2 separate regions of the Homo sapiens genome follow, and region 1 is linked to region 2. The links are contacts of gene promoters, found by promoter capture Hi-C in human tissues and cell types (Jung and others, 2019). All regions are on one chromosome and are shown on one strand. Each heading gives the region's core, a stretch centred on a gene start or on the middle of the fragment in contact. The rest is flanking DNA. Distances are from core to core; before and after follow the strand shown. Region 1 overlaps MGRN1 (mahogunin ring finger 1). Region 2 holds the start of CORO7 (coronin 7).

Region 1 (5,226 bases), core at 1,177-3,676, 240 kb after region 2:
TCCCGCTGCTACCAGAAAGGCTAGAGAGAGCAGAGAGGGTGCCCTGCCAGCCCTGGCTGGTGTCACCCTCTCCTAGACCCCTGCGGGCTAGTGATGAGAGAAATGCCACAGTCCCCCCCTCTCAGGACCTGGCACAAGGCCAGCTTCCCCTCCCAGCAGGAATCACAGAGCAGGAACAGCTCCAGTGCCACTGTCCCCCTCTGTCAGGACCTGGTACGAGGCCTGCTTCCCCTCCCAGCGGGGATCACAGAGCAGGAACAGCTCCAGTGCCACTGTCCCCCTCTCTCAGGACCTGGTACGAGGCCTGCTTCCCCTCCCAGCAGGCATCACAGAGCAGGAACAGCTCCAGTGCCACTGTCCCCCTCTCTCAGGACGCGGTGCAAGGCCAGCTTCCCCTCCCAGCAGGGATCACAGAAAAGGACCTGGAGGCTCCAGGACCTGGAGGCTGTGCCCAGGCACCCGGACACCATCCAGCCTGCCAGTGCTCCATCCATTTGAGCTGCAGGGCAAGCCACCCTCCCTGCCTCCTGACAAGGAAACTGAGGCTCAGACAGAGGGGTGTGTCCAGGCCTCCGCATCTCACAGGAGAAGGCTGGGGTCCACCTGAGGGTGGCGTCTTAACTGTGCCTTTTACTGAGGCTGAGCCCGGGCCTCCCCTGTAGTGCCTCCAACCATGCTGGGCTCTGGCGGCCATGGCAGGCCTCTTCTGCCTTTGTGTGTACAGTGGTGGCCCCCCCACGCCCCATCCCATTTCTGAGCTTGGTGTGCCTTTGTCCAGGAGAGCCTGTGGAGCCCTGGCCACAGGCAAGCAGGGCGGTGGGGTGGAGGGGAGGGGCTGTGGATTGTGAATTGGGTTCCTGCATGGAGTTTTATCAGAAATGAAACTGCTTGAGGCACCTGTCTTAGGGATGCACTCGTGCCTGTGGCTAAGACATGCAGAAGGGCGGTCCTTGAAGCAGTGTTGGGAAAAGTGAGATGTTGGTGACCATCTGCTGGTGTCCCCCAGGGGCCCTGACTGAATCAGTAAAACCAAAGCGGGACCTGTGTGGTGGTTCACAGGACACAGCCCCTGATGTGTGCAGACGCATGAAAGAGCAGTGTTGACGCCTACCCCGTCTGAACGTTGAGGAAGAGAGACCCGCGCTGCATGTGGGCACCATTGTGCCTCCGCCTTCCGGGAGTGATCTGTGGGTCTCTGCTGGGGCGGACAGCAGGCCTCTGGGAGCAGGCGTGAGGGTTGGGGAAGATGCATTTTGCACTGTGTATACTTAAGTACTGTGTTCATTTAAAAAGTAAACTCAAGCTGGGTGCAGTGACTCAGGCCTGTAATCCCAGCACTTTGGGAGGCTGAGGCAGGTGCATCACTTGAGGTCAGGAGTTCGAGACCAGCTTGGCCAACATGGTGAAACCCCATCTGTACTAAAAATAAAATATTAGCCTAGCATGGTGGCGCACACCTGTAATCCTAGCTACTTGGGAAGCTGAGGCAGGAGGATCACTTGAACTCAGAAGGCAGAGGTTGCAGTGAGCTGAGATCACAACACTGCACTCCAGCCCAGGCGACAGAGCGAGACTCTTATCTCAAAAATAAATAAATAAATAAATAAATAAATAAATAAATAAATAAATAAACAAACCAACTTAGCACCGATGGAAAGGAAAAGCACAGCTACACTGGGGAGGTATCAAAGGGATTGGGCAGGTGTGGGCTCTGGGAGAATTGTAGCCAGGCCTGACCTGGGGAGAGCTGCATGGTGAGCAGAGAGGCCGTGGAAGGCCCTGGAAGGGTGAGGGCCACGTGGCCATGTAGGCTGTTTGCTGTTCCCCATGAGAGAGGGTCCCCAAAAGACAGGTGTCTGCGGCCCTTCCAGCTGTCGGAGTGGGAGGGACGGGCACGGAGGGCCCTCTTCCTGCCGCAGCCTCACTGCTTGCTCCTGGCTCCCTGCAGATACAGCCCCAAGAGCCCCTCGCTACAGTCCGAGACCGTCCACTACAAGAGAGGGGTGAGCCAGCAGTTCTCCCTGCCCTCCTTCAAGATTGACTTCTCGGAATGGAAGGATGACGAGGTAATGCTGGCTGGGCGGCTCCTTGCCCTTCGCTCCTCCTGAATTCTCTCCCCTTGGGGGTGGGGCCAGCACAGTGGGGTCTGTGTGTTTGGCTTCCTCCAGGGTTCATAAGACCTGGGAACGGCCGCCCCAGTCTGTGCTCAGGTGGACGTGTGGATGGGCGGGAGCAAGGCCTGGGCCATGTGCTGATGGGGCCAGGGGACCAGAGGCCGACCAGGCAGCCGCACTCGGAGGCTCAGACACTGGGGTTTGGGGAGATGTGAAGAATGGGGCACCCCCTGCCAGGCTGCAGCAATGCAGGGTCTGTTCACACCAGGTGGCATTCCTTCAAGCTTTTTAACCTTACTTTTGTTTAAAATCTTGGTGCAGACATCCTTTTTTTTTTTTTTTTTTTTTTTTTTTGAGACAGTCTCGCTCTGTCGCCCAGGCTGCAGTGCAGTGGCGCGATCTCGGATCACTACAACCTCTGCCTCCTGGGTTCACAGCATTCTGCCTCAGCCTCCCGAGTGGCTGGGACTACAGGCGCCTGCCACCACGCCCGGCTAATTTTTTGTATTTTTAGTAGAGACGGGGTTTCACCGTGTTAGCCAGGATGGTCTTGATCTCCTGACCTTGTGATCCGCCGGCCTCGGCCTCCCAAAGTGCTGGGATTACAGGTGTGAGCCACCGTGCCCGGCCATTGCTGCAGACCTCTTTTAACCAGGTCTTTTGTAGGTTGCGGCTTGAGTGGCTGCTTTGCTAGTTGCTCCTCCTAGGCCCCTCTCCAGCTTTTAGTCAAAGCTGTGTCCTCCCTCCTTCCCCCTTTGCCTTGTTTTCCAGCGTCCATCTGGTCTGCAGCTTGCAAAGACCCTGGTCCAGGGGGTTCCTGTGTAACAGTACAGACCTTGTGTGGCCGGGCGCGGTGGCTCATGCCTGTAATCCCAGCACTTTGGGAGGCCGAGGCAGGCGGATCACGAGGTCAGGAGATCAAGACCATCCTGGCTAACACGGTGAAACCCCGTCTCTACTAAAAATACAAAAAAATTACCCGGGTGTGGTGGCGGGCGCCTGTAGTCCCACCTACTGGGGAGGCTGAGGCAGGAGAATATCATGAATCCAGGAGGTGGAGCTTGCAGTGAGCCGAGATCACGCCACTGCACTCCAGCCTGGGCGACAGAGTGAGATTCCGTCTCAGAAAAAAAAAAAACAATGTAGACCTTGTGGGTCCCAGGTCTGAGGCCAGGAGGAGACACTGACCACATGCCCTGCTAGCAGGCCTCATGAGCTGACTTACGCTGGGGCCAGTCCTGTGGCTGTGTTCCTGACGTTTAGCCACTCTCTGTAAAAAGCCTCCCTTGTCCTTGCATTAAAAATAAAACAAGCCAGGTGTGGTGGCTCTCGCCTGTAATCCCAGCACTTCGGGAGGCTGAGGTGGAAGGATCATTTGAGGCCAGGAGTCTGAGACAAGCCTGAGTAAAACCTTGTCTCTATGAAAAATACAAAAATTAGCTGGATGTGGTGGTATTTGCCTGTAGTCCCAGCTACTGAGGAGGCTGAGGTGGGAAGATCGCCTGAGCCTGGGAGATGGAGGCTGCAGTGAGCCATGATCGTGCCAGCGCACTTCAGCCTGGGTGACAGAGCGAGACCCTGTCTCAAAAGTAAGACTACCTGGGAGTGGGGGACCACCAGGTTGTCTAAGGAGGGGTGAAAACCGAACAGATCAAAACTCCCATGCTGATCAGTAGTGGGATTGTACCTTGGAATAGCCACTGCAGTCCAGTCTGAGCCACATAGCGAGACTCCATTTCTTAGGAAGGTAAAAAAAAAATAAAAATAAAAATAAAATAAAAGTAAAATAAACGTCTCCCCAGACTCCCTCGGGTGGGTGGAGTCTCTGTCCTCTCCCGGCATCACTGGCGTGGACCCTGCACCCTGCTCTCACGTGTGACTGTGGGTGCTGTGTGGCGTGTGTGCTGAGCTCTGGGGAGTGGGAGTTTGGGAGGTGTCTGTGTTTCCTGTTTGTTTCATGTTTCCTGGGGTCCCTCCCCAGCCCCTCTGGGGAGCCCCAGTCTCCGAGCCCTGTGAGCCATGGGTTTGCAGGTGAGGTGGCCGGGGTAGGGGAGTGGTCATTGTGGCCAGCTTCCTGAGGGGTACGGTGTTTAGGGCCCAGAGAGGGTTGGAATCACGATGCCCCCAGTTGTCCTTACCTCTGTCCCGGACTTGGCACTGGACCCGCCAGGGGGCCTTTGGTGAGGGTTTGCTGAGGAAGCTGAAGGAGGGCCCGCGTGCAGCATAGTGCTGGCTCGTCTGTGGATGGCCACGCTGAGTTGGCGCACATAAGGGGCAGCTGCTGCTGCGGGGCCTTCAAGGTGCTATCCTTGTCAGGACTTTTGTGGATGCAAGTGACAGAAAAACATTTGGTCTGGTTTAAGAAAAGAAAACCAGAGACTTACTGGTGTAGATTCAGAGAAGGCTGGGTGGCCTGAGATTTCTTCCAGGGCCTGTGTCATCAGGGTGGGGATCTCTGTGGCTTAGCCTCCCATCTCCCTCAGCTGGCCCTGCTCCAGCGCGTGGCCATCCGGCTGGGTCCGGAGATGCTTGGAGGCCGTGTGTCTTCTCTTTGTGGCCCCATTTGGGGCGGGGGCCTCCCGTCCTGCAGCCAGGCCGCAGAGACCTGGAGTAGGAGGGAGACGCTTCCCCGAAGAGAACCTGAGGGGCTCAGATGCTGGGCCAGGCATGGCTTAGCATCAAGAGCGCAGCTGCAAGGACAGGCCACAGGGGTGCCCAGCATGGCTGCACTGGCCTTGCCCAGGAGCAGAGAGGACATGTGTGGAGGGGCTGGGGGCCCACTTTCGTTCTGCCGCTTTTTCTCTCTAGAGTGTTAGGCCAGTTCTGCAGCTCTGTGAGCCTGGGTTTGCCCCTCTGTAGACTGGGGCTGGAAGCAGTCCCTCGCAGGGTGGCCACGAGGGGTCCGTGATCAGCATGCAAAGGGCTTTACCTGGAGCCGCCCACTGTAAACCCGTCTGCCAGCCGGGGAGTGGGAGAGAAGGCTATAGCCACCATCTTGCACGCCTCCCCAGACCGTTGGTTTTTATTCCACACCAGTAAAGCACTGTCAGCACCTAGTTTCTGCAGTGTGATGAGAAAAAAAATCACAGCTCACTCAGAGGCTCCTCAGAGC
Region 2 (5,308 bases), core at 1,797-4,296:
CTTTTTGAGACAGGGTCTCACTCTGTCACCCAGGCTAGAGTGCAGTGGCGCGATCTTGGATCACTGCAATCTCTGCCTCTTGGGTTCAAGTGATCCTCCTGCCTCAGCCTCCTGAGTAGCTGGGATTACAGGCGCCCAACACCAAGCCCAGCTAATTTTTGTATTGTTAGTAGAGATGGGGTTTCACCATGTTGGCCAGGCTGGTCTCGAACTCCTGGCCTCAAGTGATCTGCCTGCCTTGGTCTCCCAAAGTGCTGGGATTACAGGCATGAGCCTCCGCCCCCAGCCGTGTTGTGTTACTTCAAATCAAACTCTGTCCCCACTCACGAAGTCCCTTAGGAAATGTAAAATGTGGGCCAGGTGCGGTGGTTCATGCCTGTAATCCCAGCACTTTGGGAGGCTGAGGCAGACAGATCATCCTGAGGTCAGAAGTTCGAAACCAGCCTGGCCAACATGGTGAAACCTTATCTCTACTAAAAATACAAAAATTATCCAGGCATGGTGGCGGGCACCTACATACAATTCCAGCTACTCAGGAGGCTGAGGGAGGAGAATCACTTGAACCTGGGAGGCGGAAGTTGCAGTGAGCCGAGATCATGCCACTGCACTCCTGCCTGGGCAACAGAGCGAGACTCCATCTCAAAAAAAAAAAAAAAAAGAAAATGCAAAATGTGGCCAGGCCTCCTCCAAGTACCCGGAGAAAAACACCCAAGCTCAGAGAGGGGAACCACCAAGGCCTGGCCTCATCAGGACACACCTTTCCACAAAGTCTCATAAGTCAGTAAAAGAAACACCCCCACCCAAGGGGAGGCAGAGGAGCACGTTTCTGAAACTAAGATCTGCAAGGTCCACACATTTTCTCTGTTGTCAAAGCACCGCTCAGCACTCCTTCCTGCCCTCGATGACAGGACACCCATGTTTCCCACTCCACCCACCCATAGCACCCCGGAAACCACCTCCACCACCTGAAGTTTCTATATCAGTGTTCACCTGCCATGGTTACAGCATCAGTCCCACCCTATTATTTCTCCCTCCTGATTCATGTTTACTGTATAAACACAGTGACTGCAAATATCTCTGAAAAGAACAGATCACCTGTTCTCCCGCCTCCCTAACATAAACTGTTTTAAGCTCTCCCTACAGTCTGTAGTTCCATGCCTATCTGTTTATGTTGCTGGACTAAGGCCCACCCAGGAGCAAGAATTAGGGCCCCTCAAGTATTCTCCAGACCCCTCCAAGCAGTACTTAACTGCACTCAGAGCCACCGGCTGTCTTGATGCAAACCTAGGTACCTCCTCCTAACTTTTCTTGTTTGTTTTTTTCTTTTTTTGAGACAGTGTCTCACTCTATTGCCCAGGCTGGTGTGTAGTGGCACAATCTCGGCTCACTGCAACCTCCACTTCCTCGGCTCAAGAGATCCTCCAACCTCAGCCTCCCAAGTAGCTGGGACCACGGGAGTGAGTCACCACACCTGGCTAATTTTTTTTTCTTTAACTTGTTGTTCAGAGGGGTTTCGCAATGTTGCCCAGGCTGGTCTCGAACTCCTGAGCTCAAAGCAGTCCACCCAAAGTACTGGGATTACCGTGAGTCATGGTATCCAGCCCCTCCCCCTAACTTTTCAATGGCTCTGCACTGCAATCAGAATAAAACCCAACTTCTTCCGGTGGCCCTTGGGTTCTGCAGGACCACTCTGGACTCATCTGTCACCATACTGCTCCGGCCATCCCCTCCATCCACTCATGCTCACTTTCCATTTCTCCACCAGGCTCTTTCTCAATTCTCACCCTTCTGGCCTCAGCTAAAATGCCATCTACTCCAGGCAGCCTTTCCTGACCACGCTACTGAGACTGGCCCCCTCCATTCTCCATCCCAGTCCCTCATGTGTGTTCTTCAATGTCGTTATGAAAACCTCCAATGCTCTTGTTTGTCTGCTTGCTGTCTCCCTCATGAGGCTACAAGTGCCACAGGGGAAGGAAAATGCCGTTGTGTTCACCGGGATGTCTCCAGCAGCTTAGCACAGCATAAAGTGGAAGCAGAGGAAATATAGTCCACACTACAAAAACGGAACCTCTACCCAGACTGCCCTGACTTGCTCTGGGACCCTGATGGGGTCACTTGAGGTCAACTCCTAGGCCCAGTTATCGGAGGACACTCCCAGGCCTTACAAATAACACGGAAAGCGGAAGAGCAGAGCTGACATCGTTTCCAAGGCGCACCCCTCATCAGTCCTCCTGCCGTTTCGGGGGTCCGAAGGGTCTCCCGGCACCTGGCTCAGCAATTCTTTGGGGCTCCACCTGCTCAGGCTTCCCCAGGCCCCACCCAGCCGTGGCAGCATCACCGAGATAAAGAAAGAGCTTGCGCCAGCGGCGAGAGGAGGAAGCACCGGCGGAAACCCGAGGGAGGGGCGCGTGCGGCCGAGGGGCTCCCTCCCCACCACTGACACACTTGGGCTCGCCGGGGCCAGAGGAGAGAGGGGCGTCTCCCCACAGCCCAGCCAGGGGCAGGGGCGACCCGGGGCGGCAGGGAGGAGGAGCCAGGCGCCGGCAGCGCCCCGAGCCCCGGCTCCCGGCGAGGCCGACCGGAAGCTGGGAAGGCAGGCGGCCTCGCAGGCCTGGGCCCCGGCTAGGAGGGCTGCGCCGCCTCGGGGGTCCCGGGGCGAGGTGGGCGAGGCGGGCAGACCGCCAGGGTCACCGAGCGCCAGAGCGAGTCACGGGAGTGCCGGACTCTGCCCTCCGGCGGCGACGAAACGGCCCGGACGCCGGGGCCCTGGCCTGAAGGGGGGTTCCCCGGGGATGGAGGTCTCGGGGTTCCAGACGGCCCTGGAGGGCACCCCTGTGGGGTCCGGGCAGGGGGAGGGGCAGCCGGACGGGGCCCGAGGCGACAGCGCCCGGTCCTCGGGCCGGACTCACCTCGCGGCGGGGCGGCCGAGCCTCGGTGTGCCGGAACTTGGACACCCTGAAGCGGTTCATGGCGACGGGCACGGCGGCGGACGCGTCTTCGAGGACCCCGGGCGTCGGGTCTCAGGTGCACGCTGAGCAACCGCGACTCCCGCTGCCTCGGCCCCACCCGGGACCCAATGCCGCGGTCACGCCCCCGGCGCGCCCCACTGCCAATCGCAGCCGTCTCCGGCCCCCTGGGCCACGCCCCCAAGCCCCTCTCCTTTCGCGCGCGCACCACCGGTCCCGCCTCCCGGCCAATCCAGGTACGGCCGCCCCGCGAGGCCACGCCCTGATACCGAGGGGACGGACTGGCGCGGGTGGGAGGTCACGTGGGGCGCAGCTGTCAGCCCACGTCTCCTGCGGTGCTTGCTTGCGTGGGGTCTCGGCTGCAGCATTCGCGATTTTGTGTGCAGGATTTGCTGTGGAGTCTTTGCGGTGTACCTAGCACGCCTTCCAGCACTATCTACCTCTTCCTGTAGAGAGGGGAGAAATTAGCTCCATTTCAGAGACAGGAAACCCCCGGCTAAAGGAGAGTGTAAACTGTCGGTCCCCAGGTCACACCAGTGGTAAGAGGCAGAGGGGGAACAGGGGCCCAGGTCTAAAGCAAATCCCTGTCCACCGGGCCTACTCAAAAGCCTCTGCATCCGGCCAGGCGCTCTGCATCCGGCCAGGCGCGGTGGCTCAGGTCTGTAATCCCGAACTTTGGGAGACTGAGGCAGGAGTATCCCTTGAGCCCAAGAGGTCGAGGCTGCAGTTATCTGTGACCGTGCCACTGCACTCCAGCCTGGGAGACAGAAAGAGACCCTGCCTCTAAAAATAATAATAATAATAGCTTTTAATTTTTCTTTAGTATTTATTCATTTATTTGACACGGAGTCCCTGTCACCCAGGCTGGAGTGCAGTGGCGCGATCTCAGCTCACTGCACCCTCTGCCTCGCGGGTTCAAGCAATTCTCTTGCCTCAGCCTCCCGAATAGCTGGGATTACAGGCGCCTGCCACCGCGCCCAACTAATTTTTTATTTTTAGTAAGAGACGGGGTTTCACCATGATGGTCAGGCTGGTCTCGAACGAGACTCAAGCAGTCCTCCCAACTTGGCCTGCCAAAGTGTGGGGATTATAGGAATGAGCCAACGCACCCAGCTGATTCTTGCATTTCTAAGGTTTGAAAAGCAATGCTTACATTTTATCTTAGTTCGGGCAGAAGTGTATTTACTGTGAACCAAAGTCACTTGTGGTTTATTGAAAAGGCTTTTTGTTTGTTTGTTTTGAGACAGAGTCTCACTCTGTTGCCCAGGCTGGAGTGCAGTGGTGTCATCTCAGCTCACTGCAACCTCCACCTCCTGAGTTCAAGCGATTCTCCTGCTTCAGCCTCCCAAGCAGCTGGGATTACAGGTGTGCGCCACTACTCCTAATTTTTGTATTTTTAGTAGAGATGGGATTTTGCCATGTTGGCCAGGCTGGTCTCAAACTCCTGACCTCAAGTGATCCACCTGCCTCAGCCTCCCAAAGTGCTGGGATTAGAGGCATAAGCCACTGCGCCCAGTCCAAAAAGGTTTTTAGAAAATCATCAGGTTGGCCGGGCGCGGTAGCTCACGCCTGTAATCCCAGCACTTTGGGAGGCCAAGGTGGGTGGATCACCAGGTCAGGAGTTCAAGACCAGCCTGGCCAAGATGGTGAAACCCTGTCTGTCCTAAAAATATAAAAATTAGCTGGGCGTGGTGGTGGGTGCTTGTAATCCCAGCTACTTGGGAGGCTGAGGCAGAGAACTGCTTGAACCCGGGAGGCGGAGGTTGCAGTGAGTCGAGATCGTGCCATTGAACTCCAGCTTGGGTGACAGGGCGAGACTCTGTCTCAAAAAAAAAAAAAAAAAGAAAAAAAAAGAAAATCATCAAGTGGCTGGGCATGGTGGCTCACGCCTATAATCCCAGCACTTTGGGAGGCCGAGGTGGGTGGATCACCTGAGGTCAGGAGTTCAAGACCAGCCTGGCCACCATGGTGAAACCCCGTCTCTACTAAAAATACAAGGCGTGGTGGCAGGTGCCTGTAATCCCAGCTACTCGGGAGGCTGTGGCAGGAGAATCACTTGAACCCGGGAGGTGGAGGTTGCAATGAGCCGAGATCATGCCATTGCACTCCAGTATGGGAGACAAAAGCGAGATTTTGTCTCAAAAAAAAAAAGAAAGAAAGAAAATCATCAGGACAGTGGTCCCACTGGATCCTAGGCGACCGAGGCACAGCTCATCATCCCCTTTCATAGGGAACTGCACCTGCTACAGACATCACAGACCAGAACATCTGGACCACACATTCCTCACCCACTTGGAATTGTCCTATACTCTGTGTGAAGTAAAGAAAATGCTATACTTAAG

The links. The method cuts DNA at HindIII sites, captures the fragments that hold promoters and counts their contacts. A contact is called where the count stands out against the background at its distance.
Region 1: a contact is called between a fragment that was not itself captured here and the fragment with the promoter of CORO7 in region 2, in 1 of the 25 tissues and cell types used here (pancreas).

Annotation. Positions count from the first base shown.
Region 1 is chr16:4,655,298-4,660,523 of GRCh38, forward strand. It overlaps MGRN1 (mahogunin ring finger 1), which reads left to right. Exons shown (of 17, transcript NM_015246.4): 5 at 1,949-2,066. Among named protein-coding and RNA genes, the nearest start is that of MIR6769A, 13 kb to the right of the region's middle. The HindIII fragment of the contact is 6,147 bases long and covers 1-5,226 here.
Region 2 is chr16:4,413,550-4,418,857 of GRCh38, forward strand. It overlaps CORO7 (coronin 7), which reads right to left and starts at 3,047. Exons shown (of 28, transcript NM_024535.5): 1 at 2,910-3,047. The coding sequence starts at 2,969. It overlaps CORO7-PAM16 (CORO7-PAM16 readthrough), which reads right to left and starts at 3,047. Exons shown (of 31, transcript NM_001201479.2): 1 at 2,910-3,047. The coding sequence starts at 2,969. It overlaps LOC124903635 (a long non-coding RNA gene), which reads right to left. Exons shown (of 3, transcript XR_007064963.1): 3 at 3,176-3,412. The HindIII fragment of the contact is 38,450 bases long and covers 1-5,308 here.